4 separate regions of the Homo sapiens genome follow, and all the other regions are linked to region 1. The links are contacts of gene promoters, found by promoter capture Hi-C in blood cells and fetal thymus (Javierre and others, 2016). All regions are on one chromosome and are shown on one strand. Each heading gives the region's core, a stretch centred on a gene start or on the middle of the fragment in contact. The rest is flanking DNA. Distances are from core to core; before and after follow the strand shown. Region 1 holds the start of MTG2 (mitochondrial ribosome associated GTPase 2). Region 2 overlaps TAF4 (TATA-box binding protein associated factor 4). Region 3 overlaps TAF4 (TATA-box binding protein associated factor 4). Region 4 overlaps TAF4 (TATA-box binding protein associated factor 4).

The links. Contacts are between HindIII fragments. The CHiCAGO score rates a contact against its expected background, and 5 or more counts as called.
Region 2: a fragment that was not itself captured here is called in contact with the fragment with the promoter of MTG2 in region 1 in 15 of 17 cell types (activated CD4 T cells, M2 macrophages, naive CD8 T cells and 12 more); the score reaches 9.6 in activated CD4 T cells.
Region 3: a contact is called between a fragment that was not itself captured here and the fragment with the promoter of MTG2 in region 1, in 17 of 17 cell types (naive CD4 T cells, activated CD4 T cells, M2 macrophages and 14 more). The highest score is 16.7, in naive CD4 T cells.
Region 4: a contact is called between a fragment that was not itself captured here and the fragment with the promoter of MTG2 in region 1, in 8 of 17 cell types (M2 macrophages, monocytes, M1 macrophages and 5 more). The highest score is 11.2, in M2 macrophages.

Annotation. Positions count from the first base shown.
Region 1 is chr20:62,181,607-62,184,306 of GRCh38, forward strand. MTG2 (mitochondrial ribosome associated GTPase 2) reads left to right here and starts at 1,422. Exons shown (of 7, transcript NM_015666.4): 1 at 1,422-1,451. SS18L1 (SS18L1 subunit of BAF chromatin remodeling complex) reads left to right here. Exons shown (of 11, transcript NM_198935.3): 11 at 1-908. RefSeq lists silencers at 1,051-1,240, 1,280-1,464, 1,471-1,640. The HindIII fragment of the contact is 5,602 bases long and covers 185-2,700 here.
Region 2 is chr20:62,041,346-62,044,045 of GRCh38, forward strand. All of the region lies in intron 1 of TAF4 (TATA-box binding protein associated factor 4), which reads right to left. Among named protein-coding and RNA genes, the nearest start is that of MIR3195, 22 kb to the right of the region's middle. The HindIII fragment of the contact is 3,785 bases long and covers 1-2,700 here.
Region 3 is chr20:62,008,356-62,011,055 of GRCh38, forward strand. TAF4 (TATA-box binding protein associated factor 4) reads right to left here. Exons shown (of 15, transcript NM_003185.4): 4 at 1,691-1,810; 5 at 697-819. Among named protein-coding and RNA genes, the nearest start is that of MIR3195, 55 kb to the right of the region's middle. The HindIII fragment of the contact is 5,713 bases long and covers 1-2,700 here.
Region 4 is chr20:61,990,280-61,992,979 of GRCh38, forward strand. The region is part of intron 14 of TAF4 (TATA-box binding protein associated factor 4); the gene reads right to left. Among named protein-coding and RNA genes, the nearest start is that of MIR1257, 38 kb to the left of the region's middle. The HindIII fragment of the contact is 9,088 bases long and covers 1-2,700 here.

The sequences.
Region 1 (2,700 bases), core at 172-2,671:
CTTTGCAAAATAGTTTGTACATTTATTTCCTAATTTATACATGATTTTTGGTGTTAATATATTTAATGATTAATAACAGAATGTTTATTTAATGTGCTGTCCATTTTTATGTAATATTATGGGGAAAGTGATGCCAGCAGTTCCTTTTCATTATTCTATCTTCTGTCATATGAATGTTGAGCAAAGCTTAGGCCAACATGAATTGTTTGTGAAGTGTGGTTGATGGTGCTTTGTTTTTTTCTGACTACTTCTATGGAAGGCCAGTGAAGAAGCAAAGGAAGACATGAAAATTGACGCTCATTCTTCTTCCTATTGTTCCCTGACATCCAGCAAATTGTGAATTTGAAAAATGATGGCCAGTTTTCAGAAGTGCTGACAAATTCATATTGGTATGCAAAAGCTCATCACCCATTAAGGTTTGTTGTTGAATCAACAGTACTCAGCATATTAAAACAGTACATCAGAACTCATGCCAACAGTCTTTATGATGGGATTAAGGTGGACAAGATCTCCTAAGATCTGTGAATGGGATTAAGGTGGACAAGATCTCCTAAGATCTGAAAAGAAACCTTAATACGCTCATATGGTTGGAGTGTTAAGTGAACCTCTGATTTTGTCAGGGTTTTTCTACGTGTAGGCGTGAATAGGGGGCACCCCTTCAAAACTGTACAAAGAAGACGACTGTTTTCCATTTCCATTTAAACATTTTTAGCCACTTCATTTCTATTTATTGAACAGGTCAAATTTGTCTTGTTATTTGTGAGTACAGTACATTTAAAAAACATCCTTATCGGTTATTTTTTTTTCAGTCGGAGTTTGACGTATAAATTGTTTATGCTTTTGGTGTAATCTCTTAATAAACTGGTTCTTCAAAAATCATCCTATAAAGTGAGTTTTCATGAAGTTAACGGGATTTTGGTGTGATGTGTTTTGCAAATACTTATTACCGAGACCAGGTAGATCGTCACCTCGGCTCCCGGGCAGAGTTCGCGTGCGTCCGCACCGGATTCCCCGCGGCGGCAAGGCGAAGCCAGGGTAAGGGCGGTGGGGACGGCGCCCCGGGGCTGCCCTGCGGTCCCCACTGCCTGCTCTGCGTTGCCCCGTAGCCTCCTCGGGCAACGGCGGTGTCCTCGTCAGACCCGGGAGGTTCCGCAAACGCCGGAGGGGTCAGAGAAGCTGGGGGACCTTGGGCACCGGGTGGAACGGGCGGGGCGGCTGTCCTTGTGCTCGGGCAGCGAGGGCGCCGGCGAGAAGCGCGGCTGCAGCTGAGCGCTCCGCATCCCTCCTGCCGTTGCTCCTGCTTCCGCTACCAGGGACAAGGTCGCCTCTCGGTCCGTCGGCGTGTTTTCTGCACCTGCGCACTGGGCAAGCCTTGGGCTTCCGGAGCCAAAAGGCCCCGGAAGTGGTCGGCCGCTTGCGACGCTCCGGAAGTGACGTGCTTTCCCGAGCCGGTGAGTGCGGGAGCGGGGAGCGGGGAGCGTGGGCCTGGGGGGTGGTCGCGGCCCGGGCGCAAGGAGGGGCCTCGGCTTGGGCCGCGGGGTACCGGGGCGCTGGGAGCGGGAGAGGCCCCGGCCTAGGAGCTGAGAGGCCTGGAGGGCTGCCGGGCTGCGAACCCCGGCGGGACCGAGCGCTGCGGCCCTGGAGTAGCGAGCGCTCGGGCGGTGGGGAGCGGCGCCTTGCTCCCCGGTCCTGCCCCACTCTCTCCGCAGAACCGCGTTTTGGGGTCAGAAGTCTTGTCAGCCACCCCGGTGGTGCTCTGTCACGGGATGGGTGCCGTGTGTGAGTTCCGAGTCAAGTTGTTAGGAATTTGCCTTGATCCAGCGCTCTAAGTATTAAACATTTTAAAGTGATTATTGGCAGTATACAGTTGCACAAAACAACATAAATATATACACATTTGGATGATAAAACAACAATAAAGTTTTGTATTGTAAACGCGCCTCAGGGAGACGCATTTCCAGATAATTCACTGTCCGTGGCTGGCTTCTGCCCAGTGAGAGCGGGTTACCCGTTCTATTCCCATTTACGTTCTCGTAGCTGTGGATACCGAGGAACGGCGTTCACACAGACCTGTAGGTGGGAATTAGAGGGGTTGTTGGGCAGTGTCACTAGAGAAATACCTTTCTTTTGTAAAGGGGAGGACCCATTATAAAAGGGGGACGGGAAAGGAGAATTCAAATTGTTTTAAACGCAGGTTCGTCCTCAGGCAGTTCTGTTTTAGCAGAGAGAACGTAGCGAAACTTGGGCAGAAAATGGATTCCTTTGAAATTATCCTGGCCTTAGTCCCTTGGGAAGTCTGTGTAGGCGAACCTCAGTGAGAAGATTCCTGCCGTAAAATGCAGGTGTCAGCAGCATGCCAGGGAGGCCAGAGGATACTATGTGACTTTGGGCAAGTGACTGAACCTCTGTGAGTCTCAGCCTCCACTGCTTTAGATGGGCATAAAAAATGTAAAGTCAAGAATCAGGTTTCCGCTGGGCGCGGTGGCTCACGCCTGTAATCCCAGAACTTTGGGAGGCCAAGGCGGGCAGATCACGAGGTCAGGAGTTAAAGACCAGCCTGGCCAACATGGTGAAACCCCATCTCTACTAAAAATACAAAAAAGTAGCCGGGCGTGGTGGCAGGCGCCTGTAATCCCAGCTACTGGGGAGGCTGAGGCAGGAGAATCGCTTGAACCTGGGAGGTGGAGGTTGCAGTGAGCC
Region 2 (2,700 bases), core at 201-2,700, 140 kb before region 1:
GTCAGCCTCCACGTACAGCCACGCCTCACATCATGATGCTCCTGGCAATAACAGACGGCATACATGACGCTGGTCCCATCAAGACCATCCTGGCTAACAGGGTGAAACCCCATCTCTACTAAAAATACAAAAAATCAGCCAGGCGTGGTAGCATACGCCTGCAGTCCCAGCTACTTGGGAGGCTGAGACAGGAGAATTGCTTGAACCCGGGAGGCAGAGGTTGCAGTGAGCCGAAATTGCGCCACTGCACTCCAGCCTGGGCAACAGAGCGAGAATCCATCTCAAAAAAAAAAGAAAAAAGAAAAGTATGGCACACTGACCAGGTGCAGTAGCTCACCACTTTGAGCGGGTGAGATGGGAAGACTGCCTCAGGCCAGGAGTTTAAGACCAGCCTGGGCAACAAAGCAAGAGCCCTTCTCTCTAAAAAAAAAAAAAATTGAAACATCAGCCAGGCACAGTGGCTGTAGTTGCAGCTACTTAGGGGAGGCCAAGGCAGGAGGATCACATGAGCCCAGGAGTTCAAGGCACCACTGCACTCCAGCCTGAGTGACAGAGTGAGGCCCTATCTCCTAAAAAAAAAAAACCCTCCCACATACAATTCTGTAGCATACAGAATACTGGCTAATGATACAGACAGGAGGCAAGGAAATACTGGGTAGAAGAGGGCAATTTCCCAGCAAAGGCCCCACCCTCAAGCCTGGACACCTGCAGCCCTAAATGGGAACAGGCATTCCTGTTTCCGCGCCCAAATGTTGCCTTTTCCAAGACTAATCTGGCCTGCCACGCCCCTATCTGGTGCCCATATAAACCCCAAGCTCCACTGACGAGAGCAAAGTGGCGCAGCAGAGAAGGAGAAAAGAGAAGGAGCGTCTGAATGTCGAGAGGGGTTTGGCTGGGCACCGTCCAGGAGGAGATCGGCTGCGGGACGGCTGAACTCCAGAGGAAGATCATCTTCTCACTCCATCCCCTTGCCAGCTCATCCATCTCACTGAAGGCCACCTCCATCACTCAATAAAATCCCCACAAATGCCATCCTTCAAGTCCGTGTGACCTGATTCTTCCTGGACACCGCACAAGGACTCGGGTACCGAGAGGGCAGGGGGAAAAAGGCTGTCGCCTGACTCTCTGCTGAGCTGGTTAACACTTAGCCATCTGAGAATGGCAACTGCTAAAAGAGCATTCATTGTAATCTACCCCTAGGTGCTACTGTGGGGCGGGAGCCCAAAAGGGCTCACCCGGGCTCCTGCACCTGCCCGTCTGCACGCTCCCCTGCACGCTCCCCTTCCAGCAAATGAGCCACAGCCCCTGTTGCAAGTACCCAGAGCGGGTCAGGGAACTCTCCTGTTTCAATGATAATTAGCAACAATGTTACTGGTTTACATATTCACTACATTCTACTTCCCATCACTGTTTCAGAAATATACTGCATCTACTTATTAAAACTTACAGTTAACTGTAAAGCAGCCTCAGGCAGGTCCTTCAGGAAGAGTCCAGAAGAAGGTACTGATATCATAGGGATGACGGCTCCATGTGTGTTACTGCCCCTGAAGACTGCAGGGAGACGGGACTTGGAGGTGGAGGGCAGTGATGTGGATGATCCTGACTCTGTAGGCCTAGGCTAACGTGTGCTTGTGTCTTGTTTCTAACAAGTAAGTTTAAAAAGTAATAAATAATTTTAAAAATGGAAAAAAGCTCGCTGGGCGTGGTGGCACACGTCTGTAAACCCAGCATTTCTGGAGGCTAAGACAGGCAGATCGCTAGAGCCCAGGAGTCCAAGACCAGTCTGGGCAACACGGTGAAACCTACAAAAAAATACAAAAATTAGCCCGGCATGGTGGCCACGCCTGCCTGTAGTTCCAGCTATCCGGGAGCCTGAGGTGGGAGGATCTCCTGAGCCCAGGAGGTCAAGGCTGCAGTAAGCCATGATTGCGTCACTGCACTCCAGCCTGGGTGACAGAGCTTACAGAATAAGGATACAAAGAAAGTATTTTTTTGCACAGCTGTATAATGTGTTTGTGTTTTAAGCTAAGTGTTACTACAAAAGAGTCAAAAAGTTTGAAAAAGTTAAGTTTATAAAGTTATAGTAAGTCAAGGTTATTACTGAAGAAAGAAAACTGTGTTTTTATAAATTCCATAGTCCCTAAGCATACCCTAAGCATAGAGTGCCCCAGAGCCTACAGCAGCACAGTCATGTCCCAGGCCTCTCAGACTCCCGCAGAGCAACACCCAGTCCTGCAAGCGCCATTCATGGTGAGTGCCCTACACAGATGCACCATTTTTCATCTTTTATCCCCTAGTTTTACTGTACCTTTTCTATGTTTAGATACACAAACTCACTATCGTGTTACAACTGTACACGTCACAAGCCATGCAGGTTTACAGCCCAGGAGCCAGGGGCCGCACCACACAGCCTAAGAGTGTAGCAGGCTGTGCCATCCAGGTTTGTGTTAGTATATTCCACGATGCTCGCACAACGATGACATTGCCTAATGATGCGTTTCTAGAATGTATCCCCATCACTAAGTGGCGCGCGACTGTACCTGGTTTACACATAATTCCAGGAAGTATTTCTAAGCCCACTGCAGGCTGGACGGGAAGACACAGAGGCAGGGCCCGTTAGCTAACCCAGGCTTCAGCCTCCCACCAATGCAAAGACCACCCTGCCTGGCCTTCCCTTAAGACTGAGCCTCCCCTGTCTCC
Region 3 (2,700 bases), core at 101-2,600, 170 kb before region 1:
ACGCCAGCACAGCCCTGAGCCACGAGACAGCCATGAGGCTGAGGAAGGTGGACAGCCGAGAGCTCGGCCATGAGTGGAGATCTGGAGCTTGGGACTGTGGGTTAAGGAGAGGGGAGGCTGCCAGGAATCCTCCCTCCCACCTTCCGGCCAGGGGACAGAGTGCTGTTCTCTGCGACAGAGGTTTCGGGAGGGGTGGGGGTGGGGGGGACGGCTCTGCCACTGGAGCGCGAATGTGCCTCAGCTGGTCTGCTCCATGGGGAGGGGGCTTCTGGTGGCTCAGGGTGCAGAATGCCTGTTCCAGCCGGGACTGCGGACACCTGGGAATTTTATAAGAGGTCACACAGGAGTGGGGAGAGGGCCAGAAGGGAGTTGCTGGAGACCCTGACCAGAGTGCAGCATGGTTGGGGCAGCCAGAGGAGAAGAGAGCCACAGACAAGGGACGCAGGCACCAGAAAACGGCAAAGCCCGGGAGACCTCCAGGCGCCGGCCCCAGAACACCCAGCCCCAGGAAGGAGTCTCCTTAGCTAGGCCACACACGCCTTCGACACGTGTGCACCCCTCCCCTTCGCCTGCAGCCTTCCAGAGGAGCTCTCCCTGCTGGCACAGGCCTCCCGGGCACAGGTCACAGCAGCAACAGGTGTCTGTCCTATGCAACAGGCTTTAGGGGAAAGGGAATGTAAAGTCAAGGTTTCTCACCAGTAAATTCTGCACGAGCTCTTTCACATTAGCTGCTGTCTCTGTAGACTGCTTGCCAGATGAAGCCAGTTTTATTAACGTAGATAGGAAATTTTTACATTTCTTCACGTTTTCCATAGTTTCCTGGATTAAAGTAAAAAGATATAAGTGAAAAATCTTAAAAGGCAGATTTTTGTCACAGCCTTTGGTTACTAAAATATGCATATGTACAAAAGATACATATATTTCTTCTCTAAACTTCTTTCAAGAAAACGCACCACCTCTTGGAACCCTGGGCCATGGGGCAGGCCAGCCACATCAGTCACATGGCCACCGAAGTCAGCATCTCCCTCAGCCCCGCAAGGCCACATCTAGGAATGCAGCTATGCAAATAATTAAAAAAGTGAAAAGAGACTCTGCGAAGATGCCTGCTACAATGTTGCTGACCATAAGGACAACCTATGCCAATCCAAACGGACACAGAAGGAACCAAATAGGATGCGGTCACTAAAGCAACGAAAAGTACGCAGCAAAGAAACACCAAAAAGGCGTCAAGTGGGGCCCACTGTTTAAAGATGTCTATCGATACAGGCCGACACTGTGTGTACAAACGGGTGGCGCTGCTGTTTTACACACTGAACACAACAGTTCACCAGTGACTCTTCTGTTTTAATAAAGATGTGTATCGATACAGGCCGACACTACGAGTGTGTACAAACGGGTGGCGCTGCTGTTTTACATACAACGCGACAGTGCACCAGTGACTTTTTCAAAGGCAGGTGTTTGGGCTTTTGCTGTTTGCAGACTTCTGCGGTCTAAGGCCCTCGGAGCCCACCTCACACAGCACAGCAGCAGAGCCCCACGTGCTCACGTGGGCCCCAGACTGTTCACTGCTTTGTGAAGCAAGCAGTGAGCGGTCTGGGACAGAAGCCGGCCTGAGGTCTCAAGGCTGCATTTTCTGACCTGCGCCACGGGCCTGACCGTCTTTGAAGGCACGGAAAGGAGTGGCTCTTACCGTGGCAGCTGAGGAAGTGGTGGTCGCCCCTGGTACCGTGCGCTGAGGAGTCCCCGTCTGAACAGCCGTCGCCGTCCCAAGTGAAGCCGTCTGGGCAGCGCCACCCAGAACGAGCTGAGGCTACAAGAATCCAAAAACACAAGGTAAGGGCATCTCACGCCACCAGCTGACGAGGGGGAGACCAGCCTCACGCCCAGCAAAAGAAAACAAGCCTCCCTGCGGTGGCCAGGACGCCCAGGAAGCCAAGGACCCCGGCCACCTGCCAGCCCGCTGGACACGGGAGTGCTGCTGGGAGGCCTGCCCTGTGCCCTGACGATCGCAGTCCTGAGCGGGTGAGGAAGGCATGATTTGCACCTGCATCAAAAACGGACGTTCACAAAGCCAGGCACTGCAGAGACCCCAGTCCTCAGAAGTCCATGGAAAAAGTCACATAGAGACCAGAGTAAATAATCCTAACAGGCAACCCAGATCCCCATCTCTCAGAAATCAAAACAACAAACAGAAGAACGGCTCCTGAAAGCTCCATCCTCCCAGGTGCAGAGGCTGGCTACAGGGCGGTCAGGGCTCCACAGCCGCAGCCTCCCATAGGGGAGGGTCCCCAGCTCCCTGCAATCACCCAAACCCACCTTTCTTTACTCCCCAAAAGTGAGTGTCAACAAGAAGCCTCCCACAGAGGGGAGTTTTCAGAGCAGATTCGAGCAATGGAGGATGGGTCATCAGTGTCAAACTGTCAGAAAGGAGGGGCTGCTTTGCTAAGCAAATGAACAGCCAGACGCCAAAAGGTAGCTCAGACAACTCAGTGGCCTGTACTCGATTCCTAACATTTCCATTCTACATGAATAATCAGAATGCAAATGTTTACTGATATTTTAAACTAGTACTTTTCCAATGTATAAATCTAGCAGTCAACATTTTCTGTCTCCAATTTTTTAAACACTCCTTTGCAACTTCTGAAAGCAGGGGGCAGTGTAAGCCTGAGAATGGCTCCGGAGCAGCGAGCTCTCTCCCGG
Region 4 (2,700 bases), core at 82-2,581, 190 kb before region 1:
TGCACGGAGCTCCTTACTCTGTTCTTGCAACTTTTCTGTAGATTTGAAAACTACTTCAAACTAAAATAAGTAATTTTCAAAGTTAATGTATTCTGGAAGACGATGACAGGGGTAGCATAGTTTCTGGATCTTCCCAAAGTTCCACATAAAAGAGCAACGACACAGCAAAACCAAAAGCCAGCGGACAATCTTTAGAACAAAACTGATGAAGATGAACCACAAGCAGCCATCACCTGAAGGACGCTGCAGAACTGGACCCCGACGGGCCTGGACCCAGGAGCCAGCAGACTTCCTGGGAAGAGCAGCAGGTCCCTCCAAGAGCCGCAGTCAAACCTGGGGCAGGGGAGGACCAGGGAGGGCAGCCTGGCCACCGCAAATGCCCACACTGACCTGCCAGGGCTCCTGCAGCACAGGGCCTCACGCAGGAGAGAACCTGCTGGGAGTGAATCAGTACTGAGCAGGACAGGGACAAGGAAGGCAAAGCAAAGTCCAGATGCTTGGGAGGTGCACAGAGCCCCGGAGCCACAGACGCTGAGGACTCCCGTTCTTAACATCACGGGAAAGTAACCACAGAGGAGCACCACAAAGTCAGCAAACGCTGCAAACCACGTGTCCTGTTACAAGTTCGAGAAACCTAAACTCACGTCGAAATTAGCAACAGAAAGACATTCAGGTCAAATCCCAGACAGGCTCCCATGAGAGAAAAAGAGGATAAAAAGCAGAAGAGCATCCCTACAGACCACAGAAGACCTCAGAAACACATACTCAAAACAGCAGGTAAACAGCAAATCACGCCTTAAGAGAAATGGAAGCCAAAAAGGACAAAAAAGATAATTTTTTAAAAAAGAGAAAAATTAGGCCAGGCACAATGGCTCACACCTGTAATCCCAGCACTTTGGGAGGCTGAGACGGGCAAATCACTTGAGGTCTGGAGTTTGAGACCAGCCTGGCCAACATGGTGAAACCCTGTCTCTACTAAAAATACAAAAAAATTAGCTGGGTGTGGTGGTGCACACCTGTAATCCCAGCTACTCAGGAGGCTGAGGCAGAAGAAAACCAGGAGGCAGAGGTTGCCATGAGCTGAGATCACACCGAGATAGAGCCACTGCACTCCAGCCTGGGTGACAGAGGGAGACTCTGTCTCAAAAAATAAAAATTAAAAAAAAAGAGAGAGAGAAATTAGGCTGGACACAAGTGGCTCAGCAGCATTTAGGGAGGCCAATGTGGGAGGACTGCTTGAACCCTGGAGGTCGAGGCTGCAGTGAGCTGTGATCACACCACTGCACTCCAGCATGGGTGAGAGAGACCCTGTCTCTAAAAAACCAAAAAACAAAAAAAAAGAGAGAGAGAGATTTTAAAAATTAAGAGACTGTAAAAAGTGCTCCAGCAGGCAAAGAAGATACAACACGTGGAAAATGGGACTCTCTGAAGAAAGAAACAAAAGAACAGAACAAACACAAAGGATCATTATTGCAGATGTTCCTAAGGAGACTTGAACCGCACTGAAAGAACACAGCCAGTACTGAGAACACCACCCCAGCACAACCAAGCCCAGCACGCACTCCAGTGGGATGAGCCGGCTTCCGAGAAAAAGGACACCCAGGGAAGAAAAACACGTGGCCTACAGGAGGTAAAATGAGGCTCTCATTAGATTTGGACAGTAACACTTTAGGGAGGAAATAATCCAGAGTAACATCCTTAAGACACTTCAGTAAATACAACGTGAGCCAAAAAACAGACCTTCAGGTACAAAGGGCACAAACTCATCAGCAGGTGGGAACTTGGGAGTGGCTGCTCCCATGAAGCGTTCCAAAAGAATCTAGCAGAGAATGAGATTTGGAAAAATCAAAATGACTACAGAGACACAACATAAAGACGAGTCACGGCATTAAACATGTCATTATTTATGGCACTAAAACTCAAAGAGGGCGAAAGGGAGAGCTTATGGTGTGTAACAGCTAAATGTTTCGACAACATAAATACAGCACAAAATACAAAACGGGGCCAAGGGAGAAAGCACATGAACAACTTTCGGCTGTTTTCACCACCCTCGGCAGGAGTGCCCATATTCTTATTCTCAGGCTATGTCCAAAGGTAGGAGATATTTTAATTCTATTATCTCCTATGTCCATAACCAGGATCCTTTTATTTTAATCTCTCCTTCTCCTGCCCTCCCCTCCAATTCCCCACCCCCCAAGCCCTTGGGGCAGCCAAGAGCCAGAATTCTTACTGTGAAGATAAAGACGTCATTTTGAACATGGTAACTCCTACACCTCTGAATTTGAACTACCTGAATTGGAAATACCCATATAAGCCCATGAGACCATGTTTTACACACATTTCCCAGTGCTGTCCACTGAAAAGGCCAACCCACCCCAGCAGCAATGACATCCCTAGTCCCAGCGAGTGGTCTTCAAACGCCATTTCCCACTAGAAGAAACCAGTTCTTGGAGAAATGACTTTTTCGGTCTGAAACAGGAAAGGTGTAAGGTGAGCCTGACACATGTTAACGTCCAGACGGCAAGGACATCAGCCCCACGTCCCAGCGTGACTCAGGAACCAACCTGGAGATGCTTCCATTGGCCAAAGATGGCACAGTCTGAACTGCAACCAAAATGAGAACTGTAATAGATGGATTATGTGCAAGTCCTTGAGATCACAACGGTAAAAAATAAAAACAACACACTAAAACGTAAAACT